Regions from separate parts of the Homo sapiens genome. Here all the other regions are linked to region 2. Evidence: promoter capture Hi-C in 16 types of primary human blood cells and fetal thymus (Javierre and others, 2016). All regions are on one chromosome and are shown on one strand. Each heading gives the region's core, a stretch centred on a gene start or on the middle of the fragment in contact. The rest is flanking DNA. Distances are from core to core; before and after follow the strand shown. Region 1 overlaps MID2 (midline 2). Region 2 holds the start of RIPPLY1 (ripply transcriptional repressor 1). Region 3 overlaps MID2 (midline 2).

Region 1 (3,178 bases), core at 531-3,030, 1.0 Mb after region 2:
ATGAGGTAGATACTACTTTTATCCCCATTTTATAAATGAGAGAACGATGTTCAGAGAGGTTAAATAACTTGCTTACAATTGTCCAACTAGTAAGGGGCACAGGCAAGATTCAAATTTAGGGAGTCTAGTGCCACAGTCTACACTTTTACAACAAAGCCAAGCAATTTCAGCTCTATCAGATGTTTTTATTGGCATGACCTTACATTTCTAAATAACATCCTTACATTGGTAGTTTTAATTTTTTTCAACTTTAGACAGTATCAATTAACTTCTGCAAATTTGGACTTTTTTTCTGCCACTACTTCTACAAATATTTTTATGCCACTTCCTTCCTCTCTATTCGGGATTCCAATTACATGTATATTTGGCTGTCTGAAATTGTCCTATAGCTTACCAATGCTCTATTTTTGTTTTGCAGTCTTTTTATTTTTTTGCCATTGTGAAAACACATGCAAGTGTGTTTCATTTTGGATAGCTTCTATTGATATATCTTCAAGTTCACTAGCCTTTTCTTCTGTGATACCTAATCTGCTGTTAACCCCTCCAGTGTATTTTTTATCTTAGATATTATAACTTTCATCTCTAGTTTGATTTGGGTCTTTTAAAAAATGTCTTCCATATCTCAAGATATTCAGGCTGGGTGTGGTGGCTCACACCTTTAATCACAGCACTCTGGGAGGCTGAGGTGGGAAGATCACTTGAGACCAGCCTGGGCAACATAGCGAGATTCCATCTAAAAAAAAAAAAAAAAAAGCCTGCATCTGGTGACATGTGCCTGTAGTCCTAGCTACTTGGGAGGCTGAAGCAAGAGGATCTTCTGAGCCCAGGAGTTCAAGGGTACAGTGGGTCACGATGCTGCCACTGCACTCCAGCCTGGGCAACAGGACAATGTCTTGTCTCTGAAAACAAAAAAAGATATTTAGCCTTTCCTCTAGCTTTCTGAACATATGGAATACAGTTAAAATAATTGCTTTTATGTCCTTGCTTGCTAATTCTAATACCTGTGTCATATCTGGGTCCGTTTCAATTGGTTGCCTTTTCTTCTCATTATGGATTGTATTTTCTTGATTTTTTGCCTATCAGGTAATTTTTTACTGGATATCAGACTTGTTAATTTTCTCTTTCGGGATGCTGTATATTTTTGTATTCCTATAAATATTCTTAAACTTTGTTCTGAGACACAGTTAAGTTACTTGAAAACAGCTTGATCCTTTCAAGTCTTGGTTTTCAGATTTGATAGGTGAGATCAGAGCAATGTTTAGTCTAGAGACAATTTTTCTCCACTACTGAGGCAAAACCCTTCTGAGTACTCTATTCCAGTGTCCTGTGAGTCATGAGATTTTCCAGTTTAGCTGGTAGGAACACACACTATTGCTAGACCTATGTGAGTACCAGGGATTGTTCCCTCTTATCTTTTTGGGTGGCTCTTTCCCCAGCATTATGCAGTTTCCTCGCATGCATTTGTTGATCAGTATTCTGTTGACTACTAGAGGGAAACTCTGAAGGTCTCTAGAATTCTCTCTGCAGCTTTTTCCTCTCTGGTACTATGTCCTGTGAACTCCAGCCAACTTCGTCCACTTGGATTCTCAGCTCTGTCTCCTTAATTTTAGGGAACTCATTGGGCTCTGCCTGGATTTCCCCTTCCTGTACCACTTGATTCCCTTAAGCTTTTCAAACAAACGCTCCTGTAGTTTCTTAAGAAAGAGTACATGGGAAGTAAATTTTCAAGAACTTTTTGCCTAAAAATATTTCAAGTTAATTTTCACACTTGATAGGTTGGAAATAAATTTTGAAGGCATGACTTCATTGTCTCCTGGCTTCCATTATTGTGTTGAGACGTTCACTGCCGTTTTGAATCCAGATCTTTTGAATATAACCTATGTTTTAAAATCCAGAAGCTTAAACAAAAGTTAATATTACTTTTAATTGACAAATCATAGTTGTATACATTAATGGGTTGCAATGTGATGTTTTCATATATGCATACAATGTGGAATGACTAATCAAAGCCAATTAACATATCCATTACCTCACCATTTTTTGTGGTCAGCCATTGAGATTTACTCTTTTAGCTATTTTGAAACATACAATATGTTATTATTGATTATATTCACACTGCTGCACAACAGATCTCAGAAACTTATTCCTCCTGTCTAACTGAAACTTTATACCCTTTGTCCAACAACTCCCCATTCCCTCCTCATACCAGCCTCTAGTAACCACCATTCTACTCTCTATTTCTATGAGTTTGATTTTTTCAGATTCCACCTATGTGCGAGATCATATGGTATTTGTCTTTCTGTGCCTGGCTTATTTTACTTAGCATACATCCTCCAGGTTCATTTATGCTGTCAAGGATAACAGGATTTCCTCCAACTTCAGTGGCTGAAAGGTATTACATTATGTATCTATACCACATTTTCTTTATCCATTCATCCATTGATAGAAACTTAGGTAGATACCATATCTTGGCTATTCTGAATAATGCTTCAGTGAACATGGGAATGCAGATATTTCTTTGACATATTGATTTCAACTTCTTTGGATATATACTGACTAGTGGGATTGCTGGATCCTACAGTAGTTCTATTTTTAGTTTTTTGAGGAACCTCCATACTGTTTTTTATAATGGCTGTACTAATTTATATTCCCACCAACAATGTATAAGGGTTCCCTTTTCTCTACATCCTCACCAGCACTTATCCTTCCTCCTTTTAATAATAGCCATTACGATCTAGAAGTTTTAAAGATCTTATCTTTAACCCAGTTTTTCTGAAATTTCATCAAGATTTGCCTCTGTTATAGATTTTCCTTTCCTTTCCTTTCCTTTCCTTTCCTTTCCTTTCCTTTCCTTTCCTTTCCTTTCCTTTCCTTTCCCTCTCTCTTTCTCCCTCTCTCTCTCTTTCCTTCTTTCTTTCTTCTTGTTCTGTTGCCCAGGCTGGAGTGCAGTGGCACGATCTCAGCTCACTGCAATCTCTGCCTCCCAGATTCAAGTGATTCTTCTGCCTCAGCCTCCCTGGTAGCTGGGACTACAGGCTCACGCCATTACGCCCGGCTAATTTTGGTATTTTTAGTAGAGATGTGGTTTCACCATGTTGGCCAGGGTGGTCTCGAACTCCTGATCTCCAGTGATCTGCCCACCTTGGCCTCCCAAAGTGCTGAGATTACAGGTGTGAGC
Region 2 (3,261 bases), core at 364-2,863:
ACAGAGTCCTGCGGGTTGTTTGCTTCCCTGCCTCTGTTCCAGCACCTGTTTGGAGGCTCTCCAGGGGACAGTGTTCTACTGGAGCAGCAAAGATTCAGGGAGATCGGGTGGGTGGGAGAGCACTGGAGTAAGGTGCCAGGAGACGAGGCCTCAAGCACCAGCACTGCCACACACTGGCTGTGGGGCCTGCCCAGATCCCTTGCCCACTCTGAGCTTTGGTCTCCTCATCTTTCCAATTGCCACAGAAAGCTTGGATCTGCTCTCTGTTGGAATCAAATGTTGGCAAAACTGTGAGGATGCTATCTCAGATCTGCACCTTTGGACTGAGGTCAGGGGCTCTCTGGGAAGTGACCTGGTCACTGTTAATGCATGTGGCTGCATGTGAACACACGTCACAAGGGCTCGAACTCACCAAATCCACCAGCTTCCTCATCTGCCTTGGGGAGTCATTTGTGGAAGACAGCCAGGGCCTCCAGAGACAAGTTCCTCTGGGACAAAGAGGAGAGATCAATCCGTAGAGGAAGAGACTGAAAGGTGGGCTCCCTGAGATAACAAGAGACCTCCCAAAAGCTTGGCTCAGGTGCCATCTGCTCCAGGAAGCCTTTCCTAAGGCTCCTGAGCCCATTCCAGGACAGATGTCCCTCCTCTCGGCTTCAGCAATGTTATTATTGCTTTTATCATGCTGTTTTGTAATTGTCTATTTACTTGTCTTTGGGCTTCTTAAGCTCAAAGATATGCTCAATCGTATCTGAATCCTCAACACCTAGTACAATGTCTGGTACACAGTAGCTGTTTCAGTAAATGTTTGTTGAAGACTAAATGTTTGGAGTAATGAGTGGGGGCTAGATGGAAAATATCTTGCCTCCTACTTCCTGCTCCAAGATGTAGAACTCAGAGCTCTACCATCTTCCTGGGCTGAAGAAGAGGGCCAGAAATGTTCCTGGGTCCACTGCTTCCCCACTGGACTTGCAGAGGTAGGAAAAAAGCAAATGGAAATCTTATGGCGTGGTCAGGAAAAAGACAATGTCCCAGTCAAGGGCCTCTTTAGACTTTGGTCCTCTTTCCCCAAACTCCCCACCCCCACAGTCTAGATTGTGTTAAGCCCAGGTTTCATGGCAGTTCCCCATCCCCCTCAGGGGACTCAGCCACCTGGCCTATGAGGACCTGGCTGCTTCACCTTCAGCTTTGGCAACAGCTGTCCCCAAGTCCCCTCTTGCCACCCAGCGGGATTAGTGAGGTGAAAAGTCAGATGAGATATTCCAGCTAGAGTTGAGGAGGGAGGGCTATGAGGCCATTGCTTTTCCCCTTCACAGAGAACAGGGTGCCCTGGACATCTCATTTTCCTTCCTCTCTCAGGAAGCTCTCAAGCCTAAGTTCAGGTTGCCAAAGGCTAAGCTCAACTTACCTTTCACTCCCATTTACTTCTTGTCCAGAGGAGAGAAGGCAAGATGGGCTTAACAGGCCAGGGAGTGCCAGTGGGGCTTGTGCTAGGTCTGGAGCTAGGGCCAAAGCCAGGGCTGGAACAGGGGTGGCAGCAGCAGCACAGGCAGCAGAGTCCATTCTTAGGGGACCAAAGCCAGTGGGGTCTCCTACTTCCCAGAACCTTCTGCACTCTTTTGGCTTTTCCTGGGAGACCCTTTTATAAGCCCTGCCTGGTCTTATAAATTATTCAGGGAGGACAGGGGTGGGATGACTTGGGAGGGGGATAAAGATTTAGGGAAGGGGCTCAGGGAGGGAAAGCTGGGTTACCTGGGTGTGAAATCTCTCCCAGTTGAATAAACATGGTGTCAGTGGGAGGTGAGGGATTTGCTTTGCCTCCAAGTCAGAAAGAAAAACACAGAAGGGGCAAATCGCACACCATTTGTGTGAATTCCCCAGGGAGTAGCAAGGCCTGAGAGGGGAAGGAGAGGAGCTCATTAGCACTCTGAAACCACAGAGATGTCAGGGACAGAGGGCTGAATAGACAGGCCTTTAACTAAGCCAGTTCCTGGCAAGAAGAGACAGCTGACCCCTTTAAGGAGAGTGAGGGACTCACTTGTTATTTCAGCTCAACCTCAGATAGATTTGCCAGGTGGACCTGAATGTAGGGTGACTGCCATTAAGCATATCATCTGGGTTAGGGAAAAAAGGGGCATTCTGGGCAGAGCAGGCCCAGATGCTTGTTGGGTAAACCTTAAGTCTTCTTTCAATGCCCCTCAGCCCCTTACTGATCAGTTCATTTGTCAAAGTGCCCCCTCCAGCCTCAGCAGTAAGTGGTCCAGTGAAGGAGAGCAGGCAGGATTTCACAGGGCCTCTGGGTGAGATTCCAAACCTCAGAGCTTAGCTTCCAGTTCAGAAGCCAGGGTGCTGGGGAGAGGCAAAGTTCTGCCCGACTACAGAGCTGCCGAAGGACCAGCCCCAGCCCCAGGCCTCAGTTCCCTCATGTAAGAGATGAGGGTGCTGGCCCAGTGGTCTCATAGGACCATGCCAGCCTGAACACTCTCTGACAGGGGCTACATAAATGGGTACTGAACCCGGGCAAGCCCAGAGGCCTGAGCACAGTCCTCGGCCTTAGCCAGCCTTCTGGGCCTTTGCCAGAAAGCTTCTAGTTACAACTACTGGCAGGGACCTTATGCTTCAGAGGTCTCGAAAATATTCCTCCTGACCTCAGTGTCCAGCCCCAGCACAGATTTAGCTTCTTGGATGTTCATCACAGTCTGGTTTGTAATGGTCAAAAATTAGAAACAACTTCAATGTCCAATAATAGGAAACCAGTTACATTAATTAGGGCAAATCCTTGCAACTGAATGCCAAGCAGGTGCTCACAATCATGTTCTGGGAAGTATAATTTTTCAACACAGAAAATGGAAAAAAAAATCAGATGGTAAGATAGCATGACTAATTTAAGGGCTCCTCATTTCTCTGTTCACCTACCCCCCATCTTCACCCCACTTCCAATTCTAGTCCCACTATGTTCTTTTCAGCAAAGGAAAATTGAAAACAACTTTTAAAAGCTGGTTAGATAAATCATTGGGCAGTTACACAATTTCATATTAAAATTGGCATGGTAGAAGAATGAGGGAAAAGTTAACATATTGAAAGAGTGAAAACAAAATAAGTCTCTAAAATATTACTTAAAGGATGATCCCATTTTGGTAAGAAAAAAGATGTAGAATGGACAGCGTGCAGAGAAAAAATAAGACTGGTGAGAAGAAAGAGTGTTAGGGTTGTCATTTCTGGGAGTAACAGTGGGGTGGATTTTTACTTTATGTTTTTCTGAAT
Region 3 (3,407 bases), core at 350-2,849, 1.0 Mb after region 2:
GTTCAATATACGAGACACAAAATAAAGTTTGTTTGAAGCATCCAAAATAACTAGATATTGCAGATTTAATTTTTGTGCATTAAAGCTTGTATTTGAATTAATTTATTGAGTTTTTCAGAACAAATTATCTGAGTAGTCTGCGTTCAAGCCATTGGAGAAAAATTTAGAAAATGCCTCTGTTGTCATTGGAGAATTAAAAATTCCCAATGATTTAAGAATATAAATTATATTGGAAGCAATTAGGGTAATTCTAGTTAAATAATGTGGAAAGGTGCCCTGAATAAGGAGCTAGCAAGCCAGAGCGGGGGGTGGTCAGCCTTTCTAGTACTGGCCAGTTTGGCCATGTAGAATTTTGAACAGTGTCAAATTATCACATATTATATTTTACTTTTGATGAAAACCTATCATCAAGGGTTTGTTAGGAAACCATGAATGTGTATATGTAATATATAAAGTGAACATATATGTACTTTATATATATTCACTTGTGTATGTATGTTTATGCATATTCACTTTATATATTACATATACACAAAAAACTTTTTTTTCCAAACACCACCTCGAACTAGAACAAAAAACTTTTTAATTTGCTAATTTGAGTGAGAAATATACTGGAAGGGAAAATAAGTTACACCATCCATTTTTGTCCCCTAAAGGAAACATCAAAATCAATCAACATTTATTTCCTCCCTCTATCCATCATTGCCTTCCTCCCTCCTGTCACGCACACATACACATGCAACCATGACACAGATAATGGGAAGAGCTTTATTGGATTAGCAGAGATTTACAGACAAGATTGCACAAGAGATGCTGTTGCTGGATAGAAAATTGATCAGGTAGAAGTGATGCTACCTACTTGAGGATGGCCATCTGAATTGTTAAAAATTCTGTCATAGACTATTAAAAAAAAAGTTTTACTACTCCCAAGTACACACAGTTATGAGAATTAGGCTTTTAAAAAGTTGCACAGTGAAGGCTCTTTAGGAACCTACTTTACTTAATCAGTAAAAATTGAGTATTATTGATGCACCAACTATTCCCATATAAATGTACTTGCTTTTTCAGATAAAACACTTCTGAAGTGCTCAAGAATGTCTGAAAACAGTTTGTTTTCTTAAATAGGATAAATAATCATTCCTTTTGCAATCTTGTTTACAGTATTCATTCTCTTAGCCAATCCCTCCACGCAAATGGAGACAAACTTCATCCCAGTCCTAACCAGTATAGTTGAAGGGAATGGAGCCTTGTAGTCTATGATTTTTTTTTTTAAATTTCCATCGAAGGGATTGGGGATGTCAGAGAGCCAGAGCTTTCCCCTTTCCAGGAGCTAAGTTGGCTTCGGAAGTCTTCTGGGATTTGTGAAAATATTACTGTTGTAAAATTACAAAGTGGTAGCCATAACAACTCCCTCAGATTGGAGACTTGAAATGTCAAAACTCCCCTCTTCCTTTCCCCTAGTTTGGTGGATGCTCATTTATTAATTCATTCAATAAACTATTAGATGCCAGGTACCAAACTACTGCCATGGGAGTGCACATATTAACAAAATGCTCTACCTGCTGCCAAATGGCTTACTATTCTGTGGAAGAAACAAAGTATATAATCCTCCCCAATAACAGTTATGTATTGTTTGTTCACTTAATGTGGAAGGCAAGACTGATGCAGACACACAAGGAAGGCTCAAAAATATAAATCTAGCAGCAATGTCATCTTTTTTGATTTTAAATACCATATGTGCTTACTGCTAATCAGGAAATGAACAACCTCAGTAAAATTCATCAGTGCTGGTAAATAGTTTGCTGTAGTGGAAAGCTCATAACCTTTGGATTCAAATGATCCTAGTTTCTGTACCATTTATTAGCGTTGTGACCTAGGACAAGTACCTCACTTCTCTGAGCCTGTTTCCTCCTCTGTAAAATAATGTCTACTTCACAAGGCTGTTTCAAAGGTTAAAAAAGATAGCATATGTAAACTGTCTTAGCTCAGCGCTTGACATTTCCTAAGTGTGCCATAAATATTAATCTCTTTCCTTACTCCCAGCTCCAATACAGCGTAACAGTGCTTTAAAATGTATGTCCTTCATTTCTCCTTCATTTCTCAGTCACCTTTGTCTCTTCCCTAGGGCATATCCCCAAATTCTTAAACAAAAAAAAATGATTTTTTTCCCCTTCATCAAACTTTTCACTGGCTCCCTTAGCACCCAGTAGAAGGTCCCAACTCCTTACAGAGTCTGGGTTTTCATGTCCCTGTTTGCTTACACAGCTTAATCTTTTGCCACTTTCCCCCTCACATTGATTAAGGTAGCCAAGTTTAACTATTTACACAACTATTCACACAAGTTATTCTCTGGGCCTGCAGCAGAAACATGATTAACAATTTTAATGCCCAGAGTAAACAACAGAAATTTTTCTTAAATTAAAGGAATAGTGTGAAAATGCTGTAAGTACAGAAAATGCAACCTCCATTCCAGTAGAACAATTTCCTTTGCCTTGTCCTTGGCTCTCCAAAACTGTTCATTTATTGTGGTGTCTTTTAGATTTTAGTGCCCTGGGACAAAGATCTAATTTCCCCACCCTACTTTTGACTCTATCCTGGACTACCTTTCCTCACCTCTATCTCTCTCAACCAGACTAACTCTTTATTCCTTAGACTTGATGATGCATCCCTCTTTAGAGATCCAAAGACACCCCAAGCATCCCCCTCTCTCAGCAATAATCACATTGTATAGCAGTGTTTTTCAAAGTGTGGTCCTCACACCGCCTGTGTTAGAATCACCTTTAGTGTTTGTTAAAAGAATTGATTTTGGGTTCCCACTCCTGACCTAACCAGAATATCTGAGAACATAGGCAGGAATTTACATTTTTGACAAGCTCCTCATGATTCTGATGCACCAAAAATTTTAATGAATAATCATCTTCCCTACTAGACTGAACACCTTGAGAGGAAGGACTGTGTCTTTTATTGTTGTTATATTGTTAATACCTGGCACAGTGCTTGGAACATTAGCTTGGCTAATGTTTATTGAATGAATGTATGAATGAAAAAATGCATTATGAAAGTTTCCTCTTGTACTCTCATGTTCGTAGTGATGTTTGTTACTTCCTGGGCAGAAAAGCTTGGTTACTACTCCATTTGAGCTGTATTAATTCTATTTTGCAGAGATATCAAGGCTCCTACATAATAAATGATCATTGTCCTCCTCAAAAACTCTTTGGCAGTTATCTTGGGGAAATGTCTTTGGAGCATATGGCACCATTGTTTTCAGTAACATTTCAGTCTTGTCAAACTTTGTTGTTTGAAGGTGGATTTACATTTCGGTTATAGCCAAAAATCACTCAAAGCTAAGCCTACTTAAAAAAGTGGGGAATTAAACTGGGTTTGGAGTAAGCAATGAAGTTTGACTC

What was found. The method cuts DNA at HindIII sites, captures the fragments that hold promoters and counts their contacts. A CHiCAGO score of 5 or more calls a contact.
Region 1: a contact is called between a fragment that was not itself captured here and the fragment with the promoter of RIPPLY1 in region 2, in 6 of 17 cell types (naive B cells, naive CD4 T cells, monocytes and 3 more). The highest score is 7.1, in naive B cells.
Region 3: a contact is called between a fragment that was not itself captured here and the fragment with the promoter of RIPPLY1 in region 2, in 1 of 17 cell types (naive B cells). The highest score is 5.7, in naive B cells.

The regions. Positions count from the first base shown.
Region 1 is chrX:107,907,962-107,911,139 of GRCh38, forward strand. All of the region lies in intron 5 of MID2 (midline 2), which reads left to right. The region is part of intron 3 of LOC101928335 (a long non-coding RNA gene); the gene reads right to left. Among named protein-coding and RNA genes, the nearest start is that of TEX13B, 73 kb to the right of the region's middle. The HindIII fragment of the contact is 231 bases long and covers 1,666-1,896 here.
Region 2 is chrX:106,901,728-106,904,988 of GRCh38, forward strand. It overlaps RIPPLY1 (ripply transcriptional repressor 1), which reads right to left and starts at 1,614. Exons shown (of 4, transcript NM_138382.3): 1 at 1,406-1,614; 2 at 413-488. The coding sequence starts at 1,560. It also overlaps a transcript of CLDN2 not described here. The HindIII fragment of the contact is 2,011 bases long and covers 569-2,579 here.
Region 3 is chrX:107,927,144-107,930,550 of GRCh38, forward strand. MID2 (midline 2) reads left to right here. Exons shown (of 10, transcript NM_012216.4): 10 at 1-3,407. The region is part of intron 3 of LOC101928335 (a long non-coding RNA gene); the gene reads right to left. Among named protein-coding and RNA genes, the nearest start is that of TEX13B, 54 kb to the right of the region's middle. The HindIII fragment of the contact is 3,033 bases long and covers 84-3,116 here.